Regions from separate parts of the Homo sapiens genome. Here region 1 is linked to region 2. Evidence: promoter capture Hi-C in 16 types of primary human blood cells and fetal thymus (Javierre and others, 2016). All regions are on one chromosome and are shown on one strand. Each heading gives the region's core, a stretch centred on a gene start or on the middle of the fragment in contact. The rest is flanking DNA. Distances are from core to core; before and after follow the strand shown. Region 1 overlaps MDS2 (myelodysplastic syndrome 2 translocation associated). Region 2 holds the start of TCEA3 (transcription elongation factor A3).

Evidence for each region. The method cuts DNA at HindIII sites, captures the fragments that hold promoters and counts their contacts. A CHiCAGO score of 5 or more calls a contact.
Region 1: a contact is called between a fragment that was not itself captured here and the fragment with the promoter of TCEA3 in region 2, in 1 of 17 cell types (naive CD8 T cells). The highest score is 5.0, in naive CD8 T cells.

Annotation. Positions count from the first base shown.
Region 1 is chr1:23,640,365-23,645,333 of GRCh38, reverse strand. It overlaps MDS2 (myelodysplastic syndrome 2 translocation associated), which reads right to left. Exons shown (of 6, transcript NR_167910.1): 6 at 4,766-4,969. Among named protein-coding and RNA genes, the nearest start is that of MDS2, 16 kb to the right of the region's middle. The HindIII fragment of the contact is 5,004 bases long and covers 1,107-4,969 here.
Region 2 is chr1:23,422,916-23,428,163 of GRCh38, reverse strand. TCEA3 (transcription elongation factor A3) reads left to right here and starts at 3,416. Exons shown (of 11, transcript NM_003196.3): 1 at 3,416-3,599. The coding sequence starts at 3,531. LOC124903875 (a long non-coding RNA gene) reads right to left here and starts at 3,298. Exons shown (of 3, transcript XR_007065535.1): 1 at 3,003-3,298; 2 at 1,904-1,986; 3 at 1-452. The HindIII fragment of the contact is 3,577 bases long and covers 1,601-5,177 here.

The DNA of each region.
Region 1 (4,969 bases), core at 2,359-4,858, 220 kb before region 2:
CTCAGCCCCCAGCTTCCCAGAGGGGCTTTGGAACTCACAGTCAGCCCCTGGCATCCTTCTTAAAGGTCAAGAACACCAGGGAGGGGTGAGAGGCCTCCAGACCTGTAGATGCTCAGGACCAAGGGTTGAGCAGAATAAGGTCCCGGTTCTCAGGGAGCTCCTGAACTATTGGGCAAGAGAGGCCCAAAACGTGTAGTAGAATTCCCCACAAGGGAGGGAGCATGGAGGAGCTGTGGGGGCAGGGAGGAGGAGCCCTCCATGGACTGTGCATGGGTGGGGAGGTCAGGGAGGCTTCATTTCTAAGCTGGGGACTGAGAGCCAAGCAGGAGTTGACCAGATAAATAGGTAAGAAAGGGGTAGAGGAAGAATATGTTGGAAGATCCAGAGGAAGGAGATCTTGTAGAACACCCAGAGACAGGAAAGAAGGTCTGGCAAGGGCTGGAGAGGTGGGGTCCCTAACACACAGCCACGGAGATCATGCCCAGATCTCAGACGGCGGGGAGCTGCCTTTGTGTGCTCGGGATGCCATAACAAAATACCACAGACTTCGTAGCTAAATAACAGACATTGATGCCTCACTGTTCTGGAGGCCAGAAGTCCAAGATCAAGGTGCCAGCAGATTCAGTTTCTGGTGAGGGCTCTCTTCCTGGCTTGTAGACAGCTGCCTTCTTGCTGTGTCCTCACATGGCCTTTTCTTTGTGTGTGTGCTCACAGTGGGGAAGAGGAGAGTGAGCTCTGCAGTGTCTCCTCTTATAAGGCATGAATCCCAAGGGATCAGGGTCCCACTCTTATGACCTCATTTAACCTTAATTACTTCCTAAAGGCCCCTTTTCCAAACACAGTTGCAATGGGACTTAAAGCTGCAACATGTGATTCTGGGGAGGACACAATTCAGTCCACAGCAGGGGCCATGGAAGGTTTTAAGCAGGGAGGTCCTAGGGTAAGATTGGCCTTTGGGGAGCTCTTTCTGGCCGCAGAGGGGAGGATGGGCCAGAGCAGGCAGGACTGGAAGCTGTCTGAGTGGTTGCTCTAGTCTAGCGGTGAGAAGTGTCACTGGACCAGAGGCATGGCATTTGGAAGGGAGTGGGGGAGCTGCTCAATAAGCTTGGATCCGCGGGACTCAATGTGAAAAGAGGGCTTAGAGAGGGGGAGAGGTCAAGGATGACTGCCAGAGTCCCAGCTTGGGTAAGAGGGGGATGCAGGGACAGTTTCATGGGCATGTGACCTGCATGGTCCCACACACCAAAGGGCCCAGCGTTTGTTTAATGCTCTGCTGTTGCTGTCTTGAATTATTAACAGTTTTTTAACTGTTTAACAAGAGGCTCTGCATTTTGATTTTGCACTGGGACCTGCAAATTCTTGAGCCATTCTGCGTGGATGGGGGTCTGTGAACCTCTCTCCTCCTCCACAGATCACCAGACTGGAGCAGGGAGGGAGCTGGCCTCCCTACGACCTCTCTCTCTTGAGATGGTTACTTGATACCAGCCTTATTGCTGCCAAAACTAAAACAAGGACAAAAAAACAACAACCCTCCTAATTAACACCCTCAGCACCACTAGCAGTTAAGGGCAAAGGCTTTAGAGTCTCTGAGAAGAAAGCAAATCAGGTGCTGAATTTATTGCCTTTAGGAATTTTTAAGGCTCCATTGCCTTATCTATGGGGTGACCATGTACTTTATTGACCAGCTCAGTACGCTTCTAAGACTAGAATGGGAAAGTGGGAATAAAATACTCCCTATGCTGGGACAATAGGTGCCAACTGGATCTGTCCCATCCAAACTGGGACACATGATCCCCTACTTTTCTGTAAAATGGGATTAAATAGAACCATGCAGAGAATACAGGGGGGCCAAAGTAAGTGCTCAGTGAGCAGCACCTTCATTATTTCTTTTTATTTTTTTATTTTTATTTTTATTTTTTTGAGATGGAGTCTCACTCTGTTGCCCAGGCTAGAGTGCAGTGGCATGATCTCGGCTCACTGCAACCTCCGCCTCCCCGGTTCAAGTAATTCTCATGTCTCAGACTCCTGAGTAGCTGGGACTACAGGTACGTGCCACCACGCCCAGCTAATTTTTTGTGTTTTTTGTAGAGACGGGGTTCCACCATGTTGCCCAGGCTGATCTCGAACTCCTGACCTCAGGTGATCTGCCAGCCTTGGCCTCCCAAAGTGCTGGGATTACAGGCATAAGCCACCACGCCCGGCCTTTTTTTTTTTTTTTTGAGATAGTCTTGCTCTGTCACCCACACTGGAGTGCAGTGGCATGATCTCTGCTCACTGCAACCTCAGCTTCCCAGGTTCAAGACATTCTCTTGCCTCAGCCTCCTAAGTAGCTGGAAACAGGCACCTGCCATGACATCAGGCTAATTTCTGTGTTTTTAATAGAGATGAGGTTTCACCATGTTGGCCAGGCTGGTCTTGAACTCCTGACCTCAAGTGATCCACCTGCCTCGGCCTCTCAAAGTGCTGGGATTACAGGCATGAGCCACCGTGCCTGGCCATCTTATCATTATTTATTTATTTATTAGACAGAGTTTTGCTCATTGCACAGGCTGGAGTGCAATGGCATGATCTCGGCTCACTGCAACCTCTGCCTCGCAGGTTCAAGTGATTCTCCTGCATCAGCCTCCCAAGTAGCTGGGATTACAGGCATGTGCCACCATGCCTGGCTAATTTTTGTATTTTTAGTAGAGATAGGGCTTCACCATGTTGGCCAGGCTGGTCTTGAACTCCTGACCTCAAGTGATCCACCTGCCTTAGCCTCCCAAAGTCCTGGGATTACAGGCATGGCCATCACGCCCAGCCATCCTATCATTATTTCTATACTCTGCAGTCACTCTCAATTGATGTCTAAATGTCATTCACTTGTCAATCAATTACTCACTACCCACCATGTGTCAGGTACACAGCATTGGTTCTCCTGATGTGAAGATGTACTGATAATTCATCTATTCAGCCCACATTTTGTGAGCAGCTCCTATCTGCCAGGCTAGGTTCTGAGGCTAGGCTCGTTCTGGGGATCCAAAGATGAGTGACACCACTTGTCCTCCTGGGGCTTGCAATCTTGTAGGGTACGGTGGGTGAAAGCGTGTCTCCCAAAAATGCATGTCCACCTAGAACTTCAGAATATGACCTTACTTGAAAACAGGGTTGGCCGGACGTGGTGGCTCACGCCTGTAATCCCAGCACTTTGGGAGGCCGAGGTGGGTGGATCACGAGGTCAGGAGATCGAGACCATCCTGGCCAACACGGTGAAACCCCGTCTCTACTAAAAATACAAAAAAATTAGCCAGGCGTGGTGGCGGGCGCCTGTAGTCCCAGCTACTTGGGAGGCTGAGGCAGGAGAATGGCCTGAACCCGGGAGGCAGAGCTTGCAGTGAGCCGAGATAGTGCCACTGCACTCCAGCCTGGGCGACAGAGTGAGACTCCATCTCAAAAAAAAAAAAAAGAAAAGAAAAAAAAAGAAAAAGAAAACAGGGTCTTTGCAGGTGTAATTAAGATAAGTATCAAAATAAAATCATGCTGGATTAGGGTGGGCCTGAAATCCAATGAGAGTGTCTTGATAAGAGACAGAAGAGTGCACAGAGACACAGACGAAAAGGCCTTGTGAAGACAGAAGCAGAGACTGGAGGGCAGGGGCACTCCACAAAATGCCAAGGATTTTGCCAGCAGCCACCAAAAGTTAGGAGAAAGGCATGGAATGGATCTTCCCTTAGACCCTCCATCACCCAGGCTGGAGTACAGTGGCGTGATCTCAGCGCATTGCAACCTCCACCTCCCGGACTCAAGCAATCCTCCTGCCTCAGCCCCCCAAGTAGTTGGGACTACAGGCTGGCTATTTTTTGTATTTTTTCGTAGAGATGGTGTTTCACCATGTTGCCCAGGCTGGTCTCAAACTCCTGGGCTCAAGCAATCCTCCCACCTCAGCCTCCCAAAGTGCTGGGATTATAGGTATAAGCCACCGCGCCCAGCCCACCTTGATTTCAGACTTCTGGAAGAACCATGAGAATAAGTTTCTGTTGCTTTCAGCTACCAAGGCTGTAGTAATTTGTTACAGCAGCCCTAAGAAAATAATCCATAGAGGACACACATGACACCCACATTGATAACTAAATGAATAATTATATGATAGCTACCTCCAGGGAGAGGTAGCGATGAGGAGGCGTCACAAGGAGGCTTCTGGGGAGCTGGTTATGTTCACTTCTTGACCTAGAGGCAGGTTATGCAGATGGGTTCATTTTGTGAAGGTATATTGAGCTGTACACAGGATTTGTGTGTTTTTGTGTTTGTTATACTTCAGGAAAAACTTAAAAAGATAAATTGCACAGGCCAGGTGCGGTGGCTCATGCCTGTAATCCCAGGACTTTGGGAGGCCAAGGCAGCTGGATCACTTGAGGTTAGGAGTTTGAGAGCAACCTGGCCAACATGGTGAAACCCCGTCTCTAATAAAAATACAAAAATTAGCCAGGCGTGGTGGTACACACCTATAATCCCAGCTACTCAGAGGCTGAGACAGGAGAATTGCTTGAACTCAGGAGGCGAAAGTTGCAGTGAGCCGAGATCATGCCACTGCACTCCAGCCTGGGTGACTGAGTGAGACTCCATCCCCCAAAAATAATAAAACAAAATAAAATTTAAAAAGATAAATTGCATAGGTAGATGTATAACTATAGATTGTGTTAAGTGCTTTGAAACAAAACTCATGGGTTATAGGAGACAGTATTTTTTAGTCAGCTAGGACTGCTATAACAAAATACCACAAACTGGGTGGCTTAAACAACATACATTTATTCCTCACAGTTGTGGAGGCTGGGAAGTCCAAGATTAAGGTGCCAGCAGATTCCTGGTGAGGGCTCTCTCCCTGGGTTTGCAGACAGCCACCCTCTTGCTGGGTCCTCACATGGTGGAAAAAGAATGATCTCTTTTCTTCTTACAAAGCCACCTTTCTCTGTTTACAGTTTTGTAACATTGG
Region 2 (5,248 bases), core at 2,167-4,666:
CTGAGACAAGGATTTGGGAGCAAGTAGCTTATCTGTGAAATGATCCCAGGAAGCATAATGAGGGAATAGAGAAATGAAACAGAAAGTCAAAGATAAAGAGCTGTGCGTGTTGGTGAGAACCTATACTCCAGCTACTCGGGTGGGAGAATTGCTTGAGCCCAGGAGTTCAAGGCTGCAGTGAGCCATGATGGCGCCACTGCACTCCAGCCTGAACAACAGAGCGAGACTCTGTCTCTAACTCTTGTTGGGGACCTGTGAGAAGGAGTATTGACTAGAACATGCCTTCAGGTTGTCCCATCGAGAGTGAAGAAATGATGTTTTCCACCAACTCTGGTTTCTTGCTGGTTGGGGGTGTCCTTTCTGAGGGCATCAATTTCCTACCACCCCAAAGCTCCAAATAGAGAAATGTGGGGAGCTGTCCAAGGTGTGTCCAGGAATTATCTTCCAGTGACCTGTAGGGTGGACAGGTAGGCAGAGGGGATATGATGGTATCAACAGGGTCCAACCCTGAGAGAATCATCACCCTCTTTAGGCCTCGGTCTTCCCATCTATACAATAAAGAGGTTGGACTCCATGTTTTCTTAGGGGCCTTCATACCCTGACATTCTAGGAGTCTTAACTTTTTTTTGATGTCGCGCATCTCAGGGTGGTGACTGGGTGGAAGTTTGAGAAAAATCTCTCTCTCTCTCTTTTTTTTTTTTTTTTGATGGCTCTGTCTCCCATACTGGAGTACAGTGGCACAATCAGAGCTCACTGTAACCTTGAACTCCTGGGCTCAGGCAAGCCTCCTGCCTCAGCCTTCCGAGTAGCTGGGACTATAGGCCCACGCCACCATGCCCAGCTTTTTAAAATATTTTGTAGAGACGAGGTCTCTCTCTGTTGCCCAGGCTAGTCTTGAACTCCTGGCTTCAAGCAATCCTCCTGCTTTGGCCTCCCAAAGTGCTAGGATTACAGGCATGAGCCACTGCTCCTGGCCTTTTTTTTAATAAGGCAATCCTAAGTAGCCTCAGGCTGCTGAGGTTGAGTCTCTTCAACCCAGAAGGGCTTGGCTGGGATTGGCCAAAAGGCCTCCCAGAGAATCCCAAACCATTAGAGTCTAACTTCCCAAATGTGACCGGCAGGCACTGCATGCTCAGGTCCCACCCACTGCCTCTCCCCACACTCCTCACCTCTGTGCTGCAGCCACGCCAATTTTTCAGTTCCTCCAACACTGTCAGGCAGGCCAGGCACCCTCCCATCCCTAAGCTTTGCACATTTGGAACTCCAAGAGGGGAGGACTGTTTTGTTCCTCTCTGGATGTCCAGAACAAGAACTACCTGGCACATATTAGGTGCTCCATAAATATATGTTGAATGCCTCTTCCTTTCTTCCGTGAACACTCTTCCTCCTCCCCTCAACGGCCACTGTGTACTTCAGCCCAAAGTTTAAACTTCGTTTCTTCAGAGAAGTTGACACCCTAAATAGTGCAGGTCCCCTCAAATGTGTCCTTAAGCTATCCTCCACTGCTTCCTGCCCTTCACCCCAGCTATGATAAATGCATTAATTGACTATGTCTGTTTTTGTTTAAGGTTTCTCTTGCCCATAGACTGAGTCTCAAGCTTTCTGGGACTGGGTCTGTCTTGTTCATTGCTTGGACACTCAATACGTATTTGTTGAATGGATGAAAAAAACCCACTCTGTCCTACCTTGATCCCCGTCACATAGCAATTAGAAGATAGGTGTCCACACCAAGCTGCCTCTGCGACCCAAGCTGAAATGCGGTTCTCTCAGGAAAATCAGGAGATTTCACTCGACACCCCAACCCCAGCTCCCACACACTGTGGACCACTTTTCATGCCTTCCCTCCAGGTTCCTGAGCCCCACCCCCATCACAGGAAGATCATTTTCTGTCCATTAAACTCACTTATTTAGCAAGAGAACTGGGTCTGCAGGAGATACTTGAAGATCATTGGAGATCATTCCACAGGAAGGCAGATCCCTGCATGGCTGGGGAAGATAGGCACAATTGTGTTTCCACCCCTCCACTAAGATGACTTCCAAACCCAACCCCACTGAGGGGATACTGGCCTGACCTGGCAGCCTTGCACCTGGATCAATATTTCTCAAAATTTGGTGCACTTAAGAATGAATCTCGGCGGGGTGCGGTGGCTCACGCCTGTAATCCCAGCACTTTGGGAGGCCGAGGCAGGCAGATCACGGGGTCAGGAGATCGAGACTATTCCGGATAACATGGTGAAACCCCATCTCTACTAAAAATACAAAAAAATTGGCCGGGCGTGGTGGCGGGCGCCTGTAGTCCCAGCTACTCAGGAGGCTGAGGCAGGAGAATGGTGTGAACCCGGGAGGCAGAGCTTGCAGTGAGCCGAGATCGTGGCACTGCACTCCAGCCTGGGCGACAGTGCGAGACTGCGTCTCAAAAAAAAAAAAAAAGAATCTCATCTGTAATTACAGCACTTTGGGAGGCCAAGGCAGGCGGATCGCTTGAGACCAGGAGTTCCAGACCAGCCTGGGCAACGTAGTAAGACCTAGTCTTTACAAAAAATTAAAAAATTAGCTGGGCATGATGGATGGCTCACGCCTGTAGTCCTAGCTACTCAGGAGGCTGAGGCAGAAAGGATCACTTGAGCTGGGGAAGTCGAGGCAGTGAGCCTGATTGCTCCACTCCACTCTGGCCTCAGCCACAGAGGGAGACCCTGTCTCAAAAAAATAAAAAGAATCTCCCCGATAAGCTCTCACTACTCGAGAGTGTAGTTCTGGGACCAGCAGCACCCCCAGCACATAGGAGCTTGTTAAAAATGCAAAGCCTTACTAACAAAACAGCCAGCAAAGGAAGTTTTAGGTAGACAGAGGCAAACAGGAGCCTGGATACACGTGGCATGCACAGGCCGTGTGCACGATGGAGTGAGTGCAGGTTAAAGCAGAGCTGGATTTAGTGATCTACACACACACACACACACACACACACACACACACACACACACACACACGGGATTCGAGCGCACCGAGTTGCCTCCACTTGGGCATAGGCGCGGAACTGTGTCCTCCCGCTTTGAGATGCAACGGTGCAGAGACGCGGGAGCCCAGAACGCTTCCCAGGGCCCCTGGGACACCCTCGGGCGCCCTCCGCGCCGCGACCGCCGCCTGTGGCCAGGTCACAGCCTCCCAGCTCGCCAGAGAGCCCTCCTTCCCAAATCTCTCTTCGGTCCCCCGGCGCCCCTGGAAGGGCCGGAGTTGGAGGGTCCCCTCTCTCAGCCTCGTCCCTCCCCTGAGGCCCGATCGGCCGGCGCGGGCAATCAGTGCCCGGGCAAGTCCTTGAAGTCTATATTTAGTGCCCGCCACCCCTCCCCCGCACAGTTGGGAGGCGGGCGGTGGGGGGGTGGGGGTGGGGAGAGCCCCGCCCCCGCCGGGCGTGTGTGTCGTGTGTGTTTGGGGCCCGCGCGGGTTGCGCGCCCTCCGCCTTCGCGCCTCCTGCCCCCGAGGCCCTACTGCTGCCCCTGTGCCCCTCGCCCCGCCGGGCGTCGCGGGCCAACATGGGCCAGGAAGAGGAGCTGCTGAGGATCGCCAAAAAGCTGGAGAAGATGGTGGCCAGGAAGAACACGGTGAGGCTGCAGAGTTTGGGCCACGGCCCCCGCCCCCGGGAGGCGCGGGCAAGCCCCGGATTCCGGGGTGGGGACGTACTGGCGGGGCGCCATGGGGGCGCGTACGGGACTCGGGGACCCGAGGGAGGAGCGGCTGGTGCAGGGCCCAAGGCCCCTTGGGGACCCTTGCTGAGCACCTCGAGGTGGGCGTGTGCGTGGCCCAGGACGCCAGGGGGATCGTGCGGGTCCCGGAGGCGCGACTTGTGCACGTCCCTTTGGACGTGTAGGGTTCACCCTGGGCAGCTAGTGCAGGGCCCAGGAAAGCGGGCGAAGAGAGCTGGACGTGGGAAAGGACTTTGGGAGTCCCAGGGCTTGGCGTGTGCAAAGCCCGGGGAGCGGCGGCGATGGCGGGGGCGGGGCGGGGGGCAAATCCGGGTGGCCCGAGAAGTGGCAGAGAAACTTGGGCTGACGGGGGTACTGAGCTGCATCCCTGCACCCCGGAGTGGGTCTGCGGGAGAGAAGTAAAAGGCCGTGGATCCTGCGACCCCACCGCTTGGTGCGTCAGGAGCGGTTCTTTTGGCAATTTTCCCTTTCCTTGGCCTTGGGGTGCGGCCCGGACGGGCGGGGGCCGAACAGGTGCGGGGGCCCGCGGGGCGGGGGAAGGGGGCCGGGCTGGAGGCCTGTGCAGCGAGGGCGAGGGCGGAGGGAGGAGCGGGCTCGGCGGGAGGTTGGGAGCAGGGCTGACAGCCCTACCGGAGGGTCCTGGCCAGAGCGCAGACCCAGCTGGAAGTTAATGTTTGATCTTCCCCGTGATCTTTGCCTGGGGCTGGCGGCCGACTGGTCGCCTGGCCAGAGCAAATTTGGCCTTGGGTCCTGGAGGGCCTGCGCTCACCCTGGGAGGGAAAAAAAGGGAGCCTGGTGAGCATGCCCTTCCCACCTCCCGTTCCTGTTCCAGGGTCCTCTTCCTCCCACCATCCGTAGCCATGTGCTGCAGCCACCTGCATTTCCAGGACACTTAGGAGCCTGGGAAAGGAAGAGACACTAAGGGAAGTTTTAGAGCCAGGAAGAGTAGCCAAGGCCCAGGGAAGGGTCACTGGAACCATGAAGTGGCAGGGAGCCCTAGAGTGGACACTGGGCAGTCATGAGTTGGTGTCCATATAAAGGCCAGAGCCTCAGTTTCTTCATCTGTAAGAAAGAGATGAGATTATCTGCCTCTGGAGAAGGGATGTCACTGGATTCTTGTCTCTGCTGGCAGCGGTGAGGATTGGAGAGATGAGACAGAGATGTAAAGCCCTTAGTAGGACTCAGACCTGTGCTTGCTAAGAACTGGCGAACAAGACCTGCTTCTACGCAGCCAGGTCCAACACAGAAAGATACAGCACAAACCTGCAGAGTGCTGGGAGCTTCTCACCTGACACTCCCAACCTCCATGCACTCCCCGTTCCAGACTCCTCCACAATCCTCAGTACAACTGAGCCACAAGTCTTGGGGGAGCATTTTCTCAGCTGGGGTTGGCAGAGCGCAGCCAGGGATTCTGAGCCAAATTCCAGTTCAAATAGACGGGTTATCCCAGCCCAGCTCCTTACTGACCCCCAAGCTTGGGCCAGGAAAGAAATTCTGGGCCCCTGGGTAAGAGGGGTAGGGTGGGGACGCCTAGAGACCGGAGGAGA